Linked DNA regions of Homo sapiens: all the other regions are linked to region 2. The links are contacts of gene promoters, found by promoter capture Hi-C in blood cells and fetal thymus (Javierre and others, 2016). All regions are on one chromosome and are shown on one strand. The core of a region is centred on a gene start or on the middle of the fragment in contact, and the rest is flanking DNA. Distances in the headings are between cores, read along the strand shown. Region 1 holds the start of PCK1 (phosphoenolpyruvate carboxykinase 1). Region 2 holds the start of RAE1 (ribonucleic acid export 1). Region 3 holds the start of CTCFL (CCCTC-binding factor like).

The links. Contacts are between HindIII fragments. The CHiCAGO score rates a contact against its expected background, and 5 or more counts as called.
Region 1: a contact is called between the fragment with the promoter of PCK1 here and the fragment with the promoter of RAE1 in region 2, in 2 of 17 cell types (erythroblasts and neutrophils). The highest score is 12.4, in erythroblasts.
Region 3: the fragment with the promoter of CTCFL here is called in contact with the fragment with the promoter of RAE1 in region 2 in 11 of 17 cell types (naive B cells, naive CD8 T cells, non-activated CD4 T cells and 8 more); the score reaches 12.0 in naive B cells.

The regions. Positions count from the first base shown.
Region 1 is chr20:57,558,803-57,562,617 of GRCh38, reverse strand. PCK1 (phosphoenolpyruvate carboxykinase 1) reads right to left here and starts at 1,508. Exons shown (of 10, transcript NM_002591.4): 1 at 1,415-1,508; 2 at 983-1,246; 3 at 366-547. The coding sequence starts at 1,206. The HindIII fragment of the contact is 6,047 bases long and covers 804-3,815 here.
Region 2 is chr20:57,349,467-57,353,376 of GRCh38, reverse strand. RAE1 (ribonucleic acid export 1) reads right to left here and starts at 2,122. Exons shown (of 12, transcript NM_003610.4): 1 at 1,955-2,122. RefSeq lists enhancers at 1,653-1,732, 1,923-2,491. The HindIII fragment of the contact is 3,413 bases long and covers 1,835-3,910 here.
Region 3 is chr20:57,522,312-57,526,408 of GRCh38, reverse strand. It overlaps CTCFL (CCCTC-binding factor like), which reads left to right and starts at 1,269. Exons shown (of 11, transcript NM_001386993.1): 1 at 1,269-1,381; 2 at 2,193-2,746; 3 at 3,131-3,341. The coding sequence starts at 2,204. RefSeq lists an enhancer at 2,140-3,078. The HindIII fragment of the contact is 10,995 bases long and covers 1-4,097 here.

The sequences.
Region 1 (3,815 bases), core at 259-2,758, 210 kb before region 2:
ACCCATTTTCACGGTGTTCCACTAACACCACCACACCCTGCTGGTCACCAGCCCCCTGGGTTAGAAGAGGCCACTGGAAAGTGAACAGCCTGCTGAAATTAAAGAGTTTTCATAAATGTGCAATTGGGTCCCACCAAGCTATTTAAAACCCATATGCATGGAACTAGTTTTCACGTTTGTATAAGACAGTCTGTAAAAGCAGAAGAGGGATGTGCATTTTCAATACATTGCCAACTTCATGTATGGAACTGAAAGACATCTGAGGTGGTGGGAGCTTCCATTATTGTTTGAATTACCATTAGGATAGATGTAAATAAGAAAAGGCTCTCTGCTGTTTTACCCAATCAAATCAATGTTCCGCTCACCTTTCATGCACCCTGGGAACCTGGCATTGAACGCTTTCTCAAAATCCTCCTCTGACATCCAGCGACCGAGCTGGCTGAGGCCTGTTTTGGGGATGGGCACTGTGTCTCTTTGCTCTTGGGTGACGATAACCGTCTTGCTTTCGATCCTGGCCACATCCCTGGGGTCAGTGAGAGCCAACCAGCTGCAAAAATCACAGGCTTCCTTTCAGCCAAGCACCACGGGCAGCGAACCATCTCCTTCAGTACCGTGGCTTTCCATGCCTAGCAGAGTGCTGAGCACGCTAACAACAGTCCATCAGTGTGAACACACAGACCATCTAAGACATGGCCAGGTGGACATTTACTCCACTAGGACCTGGTCTGTAGGAGAGGGGCTGCCTTTTTTTTAATCAGGAATCTAGTTGGCAGAGCTTTTGTGCACACACCTCATTTAAAGCTTGGGCTGGCCCACTAATGTCACAAAATTCAAGTCTGTATGGTTCTGACCATTGCATTCATCTTCTCAAGAGTCTGAAACTACCCGAAGGCCTTCATTCACCTTTCTCCACCAACTCCCAGGAGACGCAGGGGAGCCCTGCCTGCAGGGTGCTGGGACAGGCAGCGGGGGCCGAGCTTACCAGTTGTCATACTTCTTCAGCCGCCTGAGGATGCCCTCTTCCTCCATCTGGCCCAGAAGCCGCCCATTCTCCTCCTCAGAGCCGTCACAGATGTGGATGTGATCAGGCTGACACAGCTCAGCGTTATTCTCGAGAAACTCCCTCACTGCCTGGGGTAGGCTGTCCAGGCTTCCCTGGACAACTTTGGCCGAGAGGTTCAGGCCGTTTTGCAGCTGAGGAGGCATTTCTGCAGAGTGCTGCTAAGGGGCACGAATGTGAGGTCACCTGAAATAGAAAACGCAAGCGTCCTGAACAAAAACAACAACAGACACCTTCAAACACATTCGACGGCCTTTTGCCAGGGCTGTGCATTGCCAAATAGTTATTGCTCTCAGGAAAAAAATGAGTTCATCTTTGTAATTTTTCAAAATGTAAATGCAAAGCTCTACTTACCTTTCTTCTCTTTGGATGATCTCGAAGGGAGATCCACAGGTTTCTTTCCGGGCTCTTCCCGCCAGCAAGTTTGTGTTCCCAGTGGGAAGGCCGTGCTTGGTGGCAGAACCTCCCAGCTTTAAATACTGTGGAAAAGAATAGCCCTGCCCCTCAGCTGCACCCAGGGAGGCTCGCCACTGACGTCAGGGGGCAGGTCTCTGGATCACGGCCAGGGTCAGTTATGCTTTGGGCCAACTCACTGCAACACGCCCCAGGGAGATAATCATTGAACAGATAGTTGTTAATGAATGCTGGGAGACTTCGAGCCCTCAACCAACCATAGTGAGTTTTGACACAACTTCCAACTGACTAAACCTTGACCCATTTTACTGCTGTTGCAAAACACAACACCCTTTTCTTAACAGGCAGGTGGGTCAAGGACAAGGTTGGCCGGGGCACCTGCTAGCAGCACATTTTGTGTACCAAGAGCTGCTGGTTGGCAAAACACCACAGCTATAAGATGTCACCCCATAGTCAAAGGTCACAGTCAAAGTTCATGGGAAGGATGCACCCTAACTTGGGCAAATATGTGGCTTATTGGCAAAGATTGGAAATGCCTAACCTAACTGGGGGCTAATCACTGTATTGATTGTCTGCTCTGTGCCGCCCCCGCCCCCTGCCCCGATGTAAACTCCATGAGGGCAGGGATTTCTCCCTATTTTGTTCATTTTTCTCTCTGTAGTGCTTGGCATAGAGTAGGCACAGGATGCACACATGCTGAGCACTGTTCTAAGAGCTTGGCATCATTACTACCCTCTGAGGTGGAGGCTATGAACAACCCATGTACAGATAGGGAAACTGAGGCAGAGATTGTGTAGCCACTCACAGCCGGCTGGTGGGTTGCAGAGTGAGGATCTGAACATGAGCAAGTTGGGCCCTGGAGCACCACGTCTCTCCCTGTGAGGTACCGCCACCTTTCCAGAACCTTCCCTGTGTCCTCCAGGGAGTTCTGGGCTGAGTGCAGTTACTCCTGCAGTCCACTGGCCACTGTTCTCTTCCCTGGCAAGTCTTAGAGTTTAGGGAGTGGAGGGGGCTTGGCAGTTTTGCTAGATTATATGCTTAAGCAATGAAACCTTTATAACAGTTGTAAAGAATTTGCTTTGCAAGCCATCAGACCTTCAGTCAAATTTAATGAGCTATGGAAGCTGCTTGCTGGAGTTTGGAGAACACAGGGTGAAATGTCAAAAGAACGGGGCTAGGTCTCAACCCCCCACAGCCAGCCCACACTTCCATGGAAGCCTCTCTACCTAAGATGAGGTCAGGTGGGGACTTGGCCCATCTCCCCGCTGGGGTGTGGGATGATCCCTGAGATAATCCCAGGACTGGGCTTAGAAAGAGCTGCTGTGGCAAATACAAGTCACTGTGAATGGCAGCCTCCGACCAAACTCACTTAGAGAACCCTCCTGGGGGCTTGGGTCACACTGTGTTGGGCGTGGGTCACACATCATCAAGTTCCACCAAAATTATCAACCCATTGCTATGTTTCCTGTATTCAGATTTTATTCAGCCAGTTGTGTCTTTCAGGATAAATATGATATGAGGTGCTTTTTGTTTCATTTGAAGTTATTCCCCGTTTAGGTCACTGGCATTTGTTATTAGTGGTGCTGTCATCCATACATAAGATCGTGTTGTGTCTAAACCCAACAGTGACGTGATGCTCAGTAGCCGAGGCCACTTCGTTAGCATCTGACATCAGTGAATTAGCCATCCCGATGCATGACCACAATTCCGTGACACACACATCACTCCCGGCGAGACTCATCCCACCAAATTGGTAGAAAGTCCCATTTTGCTGATAAAACGGTAACAGGTTTGAGTACCTGAAAGAGCACATAGATTGAAAACAAAAAGGGAAAGCAGAACTCATTTGGAGTCCTAAATGCGACCCATCCATTCCAGGTGCTTATGTTCTGAGTCTTCTGGGAGAGAAACAGCTAGTTCAAGTAAAACGTCAGAGCAGTGAGTCACCAACGACCTTCATCCGATCCTTTCATTACCTGCATTTACAGCGTGGAAGGACGGTAATGATTCCCCCGCAACTGTCCCTTGTCAAAATGTTAAAAAGCAAACATTGGTTTACAGACTTGCCTCAAAGGACAGAGTTCTCTGGAAGAAGAATCATGATAAAGTAGAGGGGTTTTGAGGACACACAGGCAAAAGTATGGGTACAGTTGCCTTAGGTCTTGGCAGATGATGCCCTCGGGCCCCCATTTTTCCTGTCCTTAGAGACTCCCTGCCCCAGTGGGGACTCATTGACAACAATTTCAAGGGGCTGGCCGGAAGCATGGGTCTTCCTCATCTGACTGTCAGCTTATTTGTAAGTAAGCCTCAAAACTAACTACTGTCTGTTGGTTTCAACAGG
Region 2 (3,910 bases), core at 873-3,372:
TCTTGCCACTCAGGAGTTGGGACTCTAATCTCACCAGTCTTCATTTTCCTGCTCTGCAAACATAGAGAACATTAACACATTCTCCAGGGCTGCTCTGGGGATCAAATCAGATTATGTAGAAAATGCAGTATCTAGTTCATAGTGGGTACAATAAACGACTTTTCCCTTCTTTTTTCCTTCCAACTCCCCGAGGAGTTACGTACACTGAAACCACATTTCAATCCTACTACCTGTTACGCTGAAAAGTCCTCCATACCAGTCACCTCTCCAAAGGGAGCCAAATGGCTGAGTGACATCCTTGCTAACAAGACAACACAGAACGGAGAAACTGCAAGGAATTTGGGGAAGGCATTTGAGTTTCCTCAGCTTCATGAAAAATAAGTGCAGAACAAAAGGTCAGAGCAACAGCTACAAGCACATGTACATTTTAGTGAACGTGAGGGGATGTGGTCCTTGCCGGCCACACTTCTGCCCTCAAATGCAGAGGTACTTGAAACACCAGTTGGCTGTATGAACGAACAAAGGCATGACAAGGCTTCTGCAATCAGTCCAGGTGCTGGTTACACGGCTTTGGACGGGTCACTTAACCTTGATTTTCTCATCTGTAAAACAGAGACACTAATATCTACTTCACAGAGTTATGAGAACTAAATGAAGCCACACACACACACTGCCTAAAGCACTACAGGTTCTTAATAAATATTACTTTCACTCTATTCCTCTACCTCAACCTTCAAGTTGGGAGAGAACATTTCTGCCATTAGGGATGAACTTAGGAAAAAGAACATGGTAGGTGAGAATCGTTCGTGTTAGTCAGTGTGGACCACACCTTATGCTGAGCACTGGGAAGCTTCCAAAGTTCAGAAGGCACAGTCATCTGTGGGACCCACCTAATCTCTTCCCGCTCTCTCCCGCCTTGCTGCACCCCAGCCCTCCTAGCTCTGCTGGCTTCCTTTCTCCGCTGAACACAACAAGCTCATCCCTGCCTTGGAGCAAACCTAGTGCTGTTCCTTCAGCTTGGGATGATTTGCTTCTCCCTCCCCACAGCTACCTCCGTTTGAATCTTCATATCCCAGTTCAAAAGTTGCCTCCTCCGAACTTCTTGGGGTGATGAAAATGTCCCAAATTTGAACTTGCCATGTTTACGCAACTGCATAAAATTTCCAAACTCACAATATACACTTTCAATGGTTGAAATTAATGTTATTTTATACTTCAATAAAGCTGTCACACGTATTCTTTTTTAAAGTCACCTCCTCAGACGCTTCTTTGCCAACTTTAACATATCTAATCTTCCATCACATCCCCTGGAATTTCTTGTTTACACTCAAAATCTCTTCCCCCCCAGAATGCTGGCTCCAAGAGGGCAGCCACTTGCCTGGATTCTTCCCTTAATGCATACTGGGTCCCACAGTACAATGCCTGGCCCAGGGCGGCTGGTGTTTAATACTACTTGCCTGGAGAAGTACTGCCTGTACGGTGGCACCTATATACGTATACAATAAATACTTGGCGGGCTAAGACAGAAACAGACTTAGTTTCAGAGACTGGTAACTGCTACGAAAGAAATGGAGCAGGTTGACGTGGAAGAGGCTAAAAGGGGACGCCCTTCTGCAAAGCGGCCAGGGAAAGCTTCTCCCAGGAGCTGACATGTATCTGACGAGACGCCAGACGTGTAAGGGGGAGGGACAGAGGCGACACACACTGCATTAACGCAATGTGACCCTTCCCAGAGGCTCAGTTCCCCCACAAGAGAAACGATGGATTAGGCCCTAGGTGACCCCTAAGGCCATTTCCAGCTCTGACCTCGCTTCCAGGGCCCAGTAACGAAGCTTAGTCAACAGTCCCGCTCGCGCCCCAGCATCCCGCAGAAGCGCGCTCCCGGGAGGCAACTCGGCCTCTGCGGGAGCCATGGCGGCGGTTAACGACGGGACGCGCGCGGCACGGGGCCTACCTGGGGGTCTCGCCCCGGCGGAAAGCGGCGGCCGGGAGCAGAAGGGTCTGAGGAGTTTGCGAACCTGCTCTGGCGCGAAGGACGAGGGCCAGGAGCGCGGACAGAAATCCCAGGAGCCCGAAGCCTCCTTAAGCCTGCGGTAGAAACTGCCCTGACTACCGCGGAAACAACGCGCGTGCGCCCTGGAGCCACTTCCTGCGTCGCCCGGAAATCGTCGAAGAAAAAGGCTCCTTTTCCCGCAAGGCGACAGCACATGCGCAAAAACGCTTTACACCAGCAGTTTGCGAATTGGTCCAAAGTTGATGTAGCCGCTGCAAGTTACTAAGCGACTGCTTTTATAAATCCGCAACTGGCCAGGCGCGGTGGCTCACGCCTGTAATCCCAGCACTTTGGGAGGCCGAGGCGGGCTGATCACCTGGGGTCAGGAGTTCAAGACAAGTCTGGCCAACATCGTGAACCGCCCCGCCCCCCGCCCCCCCCGCCCCCCCGCGCCGCCCCCCCCCGCCCCCCGCCCCCGTCCCCCCGCCCCCCCCGCCCCCCCCGCCCCCCGTCCCCCCGCCCCCCCGCCCCCCCGTCCCCCCGTCAGTACTAAAAATACAAAAATTAGCCGGGCATGGTGGCGGGTGCCTGTAATCCCAGCTGCTTGGGAGGCTAAGGCAGGAGAATCGCTTGAACCCAGGAGGTGGAGGTTGCAGTGAGCCGAGACCATGCCATTGCACTCCAGTCTGGACAACAAGAGCGAAACTCCATCTCAAATCAGTCAATCAATCCGCAACTAGGGCTAGTGCAAGGTAGCTAGCTGTTTTCTCTTGTGAATTAATTATTGCATTTATCATGTATAAACATCTAAAAGATTCTGATTGCTTCCAATTCACGTCCAAGGCCAACCTCCGAGAAGCTGCTCTAACGCTGCCTCCGAACAAGGCGAGGTCGGCCGCGGGTTTCCCGCCCTGGCCTCTCCCTGTTTGCCCACTGGGGTACCCTGAGCCCACCTCGGGGCTCTTTGGGCCTCAGTTTCCTGCTGCATGGTGGGGAAAATGATGCCAGGGCTGTTCCTAATTAGGGTCAAGTGAAATCATACGTGAACTACTCTTACTAATAGAACTGTCTGTAGAAATGTTAAGGGATTCTTATTACTCACACACGCCCACTCCAAATATTTCAGTTGGTTGTTTCCTCCCAACCCCTACTTTTAGGAGCATCTGAAGAAGGAAGTGAAGGAAAAGACAGATCACAAGGAAGGGATTTCGTGAGGTTATGTAGCTACCCTGGATTCTCTCCTTCACTACTCAGTGTGGTCTGCGTGCCTTGACCTTCTTAAGGAGGTTTAGGATCTGGGGTATCTTTTTATAAAATGCAGATTCAGTAGGTCTACGATGGGCCTAAAAATCCACATTTCTACCAAATTCCCAGCAGAGGTTGCTGGGCCGTGAACCAGAGTTAAGTACCAAGGCTGTAGATCATTTGGAATCCTGGGCAGCTTTTTAAAAACTGTGATGTTTACACTGCACCCTTAGAGATTCTGATTTAGTACGCCTGGGCTAGAAAAGAGGAAATTAATATTTTTTAAAAGCTCCCCAGGTGATTCTAAGATGCAGCCAAGACTGAGAACCTCTAGTCTAGACGATGATGGTAATAATAGCTCTTTTGAGCATCACCCTATGCTAAGCGCTTTAGATGCTCCATCTCCTGTAGTTTCCAGACCAGCCCTAAAAGATAGGTATTGTGATTATCTCCATTTTATAGATATGGAAAATGAAGCTGACAGAGGTGATGTTGTGTCCGGAATTGGTGGGTTCTTGGTCTCACTGACTTCAAGAATGAAGCTGCGGAGCCTCGCGGTGAGTGTTACAGTTCTTAAAAGCAGCGCATCCGGAGTCTGTTCCTTCTGATGTTAAGATGTGTTTGGAGTTTCTTCCTTCTGGTGGTTTATGGCCTCGCTGGCTCAGAAGCGAA
Region 3 (4,097 bases), core at 20-2,519, 170 kb before region 2:
AGGTCTCCCAGCGCCCCCTACAGGGCTCTCCTCCCCTCCTCATTCCACCCCTCCCCCCAGTATCTCAGTGCCTCCTGCGGGCCCTCCTCCCACCCTTATCCATTCCCCTCCCCTAGGTCTCCCAGCGCCCCCTGCAGGACCCCCTCCCCTCCTTATCCATTCCCCCACAAGGTATCCCAGCGCCCCCTGCAGGGCTCTCCTCCCCTCCTCATTCCACCCCTCCCCCCAGTCTCTCAGTGCCTCCTGCGGGCCCTCCTCCTCTCCTTATCCATTCCCCTCCCCCAGGTCTCCCAGCACCCCTTGCAGGCCCTCCTCCCCTCCTTATCCATTCCCCTCCCCCAAGTCTCCCAGCACCCCTTGCAGGCCCTCCTCCCCTCCTTATCCATTCCCCCACCCCTCGCCCCCCGCAGGGCTCCCAGGGCCCCCTGCAGACCCTCCTCCCCTTGTCCTCTCCTATTCATCCCCCAGGTCTCCCAAGAACCCCTGCAGACCCTCCTCCCCTCCTTATCCATTACCCTCACCTCAGGTCTCCCCGCCCCCCTGCAGGGCTCTCCCCTCCTCATTCCACCCCTCCCCCTGGTATCTCAGTGCCTCCTGTTGGCCCTCCTACCCTCCTTATCCATTCCCCTCCCCTAGGTGTCACAGGCCCCCTGCAGGCCCCCCTCCCCTCCTTATCCATTACCCACCACCCCCCTCAGGTCTCCCAGCCCCCCTGCAGGGCTATCCTCCCCGCCTCATTCCACCCCTCCCCCCCTCATTCCACCCCTCCCCCCAGTATCTCAGTGCCTCCTGTGGGCCCTCCTCCCCTCCTTATCCATTCCCCCTCAGATCTCCCAGGCCCCCTGCAGGCCCTCGTGCCCTCCTTACTTCCCCCCCGGGTCTCCCAGCGCCCCCTGCGGGGCCCTCCTCCCTTCCTCATCCACTTCAACCCCAAGGTATTTCCGTGCCCCTGCAGGACCCTCCTCCCCTCCTTAGGCGCTCCCCCACTACCCAGTCTTCCAGTGCCCTGCAGGCTCTCCTCCTCTCCTTATCCACCCCCACCCCAGGTCTCCCAGTGCCCTGTATGGGACCCTCCTCCCCTCCTCATCCACCCCCCCAGGTCCACCAGTGCCCCCTCTGGGGTCCTCCTCATCCGTGCTCCCCCTCCCCCTCCCTACTCCCCTTCCCCCCTGCCCCCACAGTACATCACCCCCTCCCCCAACCCTGCCTGGCTCCGCCCCCTTCACGCCCCCTCTTTTCCGCTCCGCGCCTGCGCACTGCCACCCTCCACTCTCGCGCCAGCCCGGCGGCGGCCGGCTGTGGGCTGCAGCACGCGGTGCACGAGGCAGAGCCCACAAGCCAAAGACGGAGTGGGCCGAGCATTCCGGCCACGCCTTCCGCGGTGAGGGGCCAGTCCCGGTCAAGCCCACCTGCTCTCCTCCAAGAGCATGGGCTGTTCTGGGCGTGGGCGGAGGGAGGGGCTGGCCGGAAAGGCCCAAGGGCGGGCGGCAGACGCTGAGGGGCTGCCTGGGAGGGTCGGGTCGGGGCGGGGCGTGGGGGGCAGGGTAAAGCAGGGGCCCTGCCAGGCCTCCGAGGGAGTGTGCTTGGTCTGGCCGAGGGCTGCTTGGCCAAGTCTGGGTGGGCTCGAGGCCACTAGGCCCAAAGCCTGCCTGGCTCTGAGGGTGCTAGGTCTAGAACCGTGCACGAGGGGAATGCCTGCTCGGGCCCGAACCTCGCTGGGCGCCGGGTGTGCACTGGCCCGGGGCCTGCTTGGACCTGAAACTTGCTAGGCCCAGGATATGCACTGGCCGAGAGCCTGCTGGGCCCAAACCTTACTAGGCCCAGGATGTTCACTGACTGAACCGGCTCAGGCCTAACCTTGCTAGGCCCAGGATATGCACTGGGCCAGAGTGTGCTCAGGCGGAACCTTGCCAGGCGCAGGATGTGTGCTGGCCCTAAGCCTGCTGAGGCCCAAACCTGTTCGTTCTAGGGTTTTGTACAAAATCCTGCTTTAGCCTAAATCCTGCTTAGCCTTGACCCCCTCCTAGACCCAAGCCAGATCAGCATTGTTCTGACCCTACTAAGTCCAAAACCTTTTGAGGCCAGACCTTGTTTCAACTCCAAAGCCTGCTAGGTTCCAGCACCCCCCGCATCCCTCCTCATACCACCCCCTTCTCCCCCCTATGGAAACCGCTTGCTTATTTTTCAAACAGGCCAAGTCATTATGGCAGCCACTGAGATCTCTGTCCTTTCTGAGCAATTCACCAAGATCAAAGAACTCGAGTTGATGCCGGAAAAAGGCCTGAAGGAGGAGGAAAAAGACGGAGTGTGCAGAGAGAAAGACCATCGGAGCCCTAGTGAGTTGGAGGCCGAGCGTACCTCTGGGGCCTTCCAGGACAGCGTCCTGGAGGAAGAAGTGGAGCTGGTGCTGGCCCCCTCGGAGGAGAGCGAGAAGTACATCCTGACCCTGCAGACGGTGCACTTCACTTCTGAAGCTGTGGAGTTGCAGGATATGAGCTTGCTGAGCATACAGCAGCAAGAAGGGGTGCAGGTGGTGGTGCAACAGCCTGGCCCTGGGTTGCTGTGGCTTGAGGAAGGGCCCCGGCAGAGCCTGCAGCAGTGTGTGGCCATTAGTATCCAGCAAGAGCTGTACTCCCCGCAAGAGATGGAGGTGTTGCAGTTCCACGCTCTAGAGGAGAATGTGATGGTGGCCAGTGAAGACAGTAAGTTAGCGGTGAGCCTGGCTGAAACTACTGGACTGATCAAGGTACAGCTGGTTTTAATAAACAACCCCTTACATGAAAAAGAAAAAATTCAAGTCGGCTTTTATGCAATATTATGTCTGGACAAGGTATTTTGCAGTTGCAAATTAAAGACAGTACAAATACTTCCCAGGAAAATCTTGAGAGTTCTTAGGTTCTTTTTTAAAAAAGAGTTTTAAAAGTGGTGCTAATTGGAATAGTGTAAGGCGCATTATGTTTTAAAAAAAAGTGTTAAGTTTCACTGCCACAACCCTGATGCGAAATAATTAACATTGTGATGCATAATCTTCCACTTTGGCTTTTCTTTTTGTATTCTGTGCTTCATCCAGGCAAAAGTCTAATTATACTGAAATCAATAGTATCATATTTGAATATTTGTTGTTTATTAGCTCGAGGAAGAGCAGGAGAAGAACCAGTTATTGGCTGAAAGAACAAAGGAGCAGCTCTTTTTTGTGGAAACAATGTCAGGAGATGAAAGAAGTGACGAAATTGTTCTCACAGTTTCAAATTCAAATGTGGAAGAACAAGAGGATCAACCTACAGCTGGTCAAGCAGATGCTGAAAAGGCCAAATCTACAAAAAATCAAAGAAAGACAAAGGGTAGGCCAGTTCATCTCATAGAATACACTCCCTAAAACTGGGCTGCTGTTTTTCTTTATGGGCAGGTGATGGTAATTGAAGTTTTAAGTGGTTGACTTTTACTTTCAAAATGTCAGGAAATGGGAGAAATTTTAAACTAATGTTCTGTATTGTGAATCAAATCCAGAAGGGTTTTGCACTTTACACACAAACGTTTTGAAAGCACAGTAAAAATGTTCCCACAAAGCCTTGTGCACGTAAGCATAGAAGACCAAGCCCTGGTCTCTGCTGCCTAGTTTGCAGCCCCAGAGGGATATGGGGGACAAGTCATTACAGGACAGGTGGTGAGGCCTCGTGTGCTTCAGGGCCAAGAGAAGGAGTGATTCCTCCTTCAGGAAGCCGTAGAGGGTGCCTTCTAAGGGAGGTGATATTTAGGTGAGTCCAGGACAAAGAAGCCACTAAGATGGGGATCAGGATTCCAAGTACTAGGAAGTGGTCTGGGCGTGTAGCTCTGGAAGTATTTACTTTGTATCTGAGGGTGGAGAGCTCTACTGTGTCTGTAGAGCTGGGTGGGTGCTCAGAGAGGTGGATGGGTCCAGATTAGGAAGACCCTGAAGCAATATTAAAGCCATATTAAACTGAGATTTCATTCCAGCAGCCCACAGGATGAATTTGTCCTATGAAAATAATTTGTTTGGCTTATTTTTTAAAAATATTAGTTTCTCACTTATTTAAATCAACATATTTCACCCCCAAAATTTCAATTTCTAGCTCTTT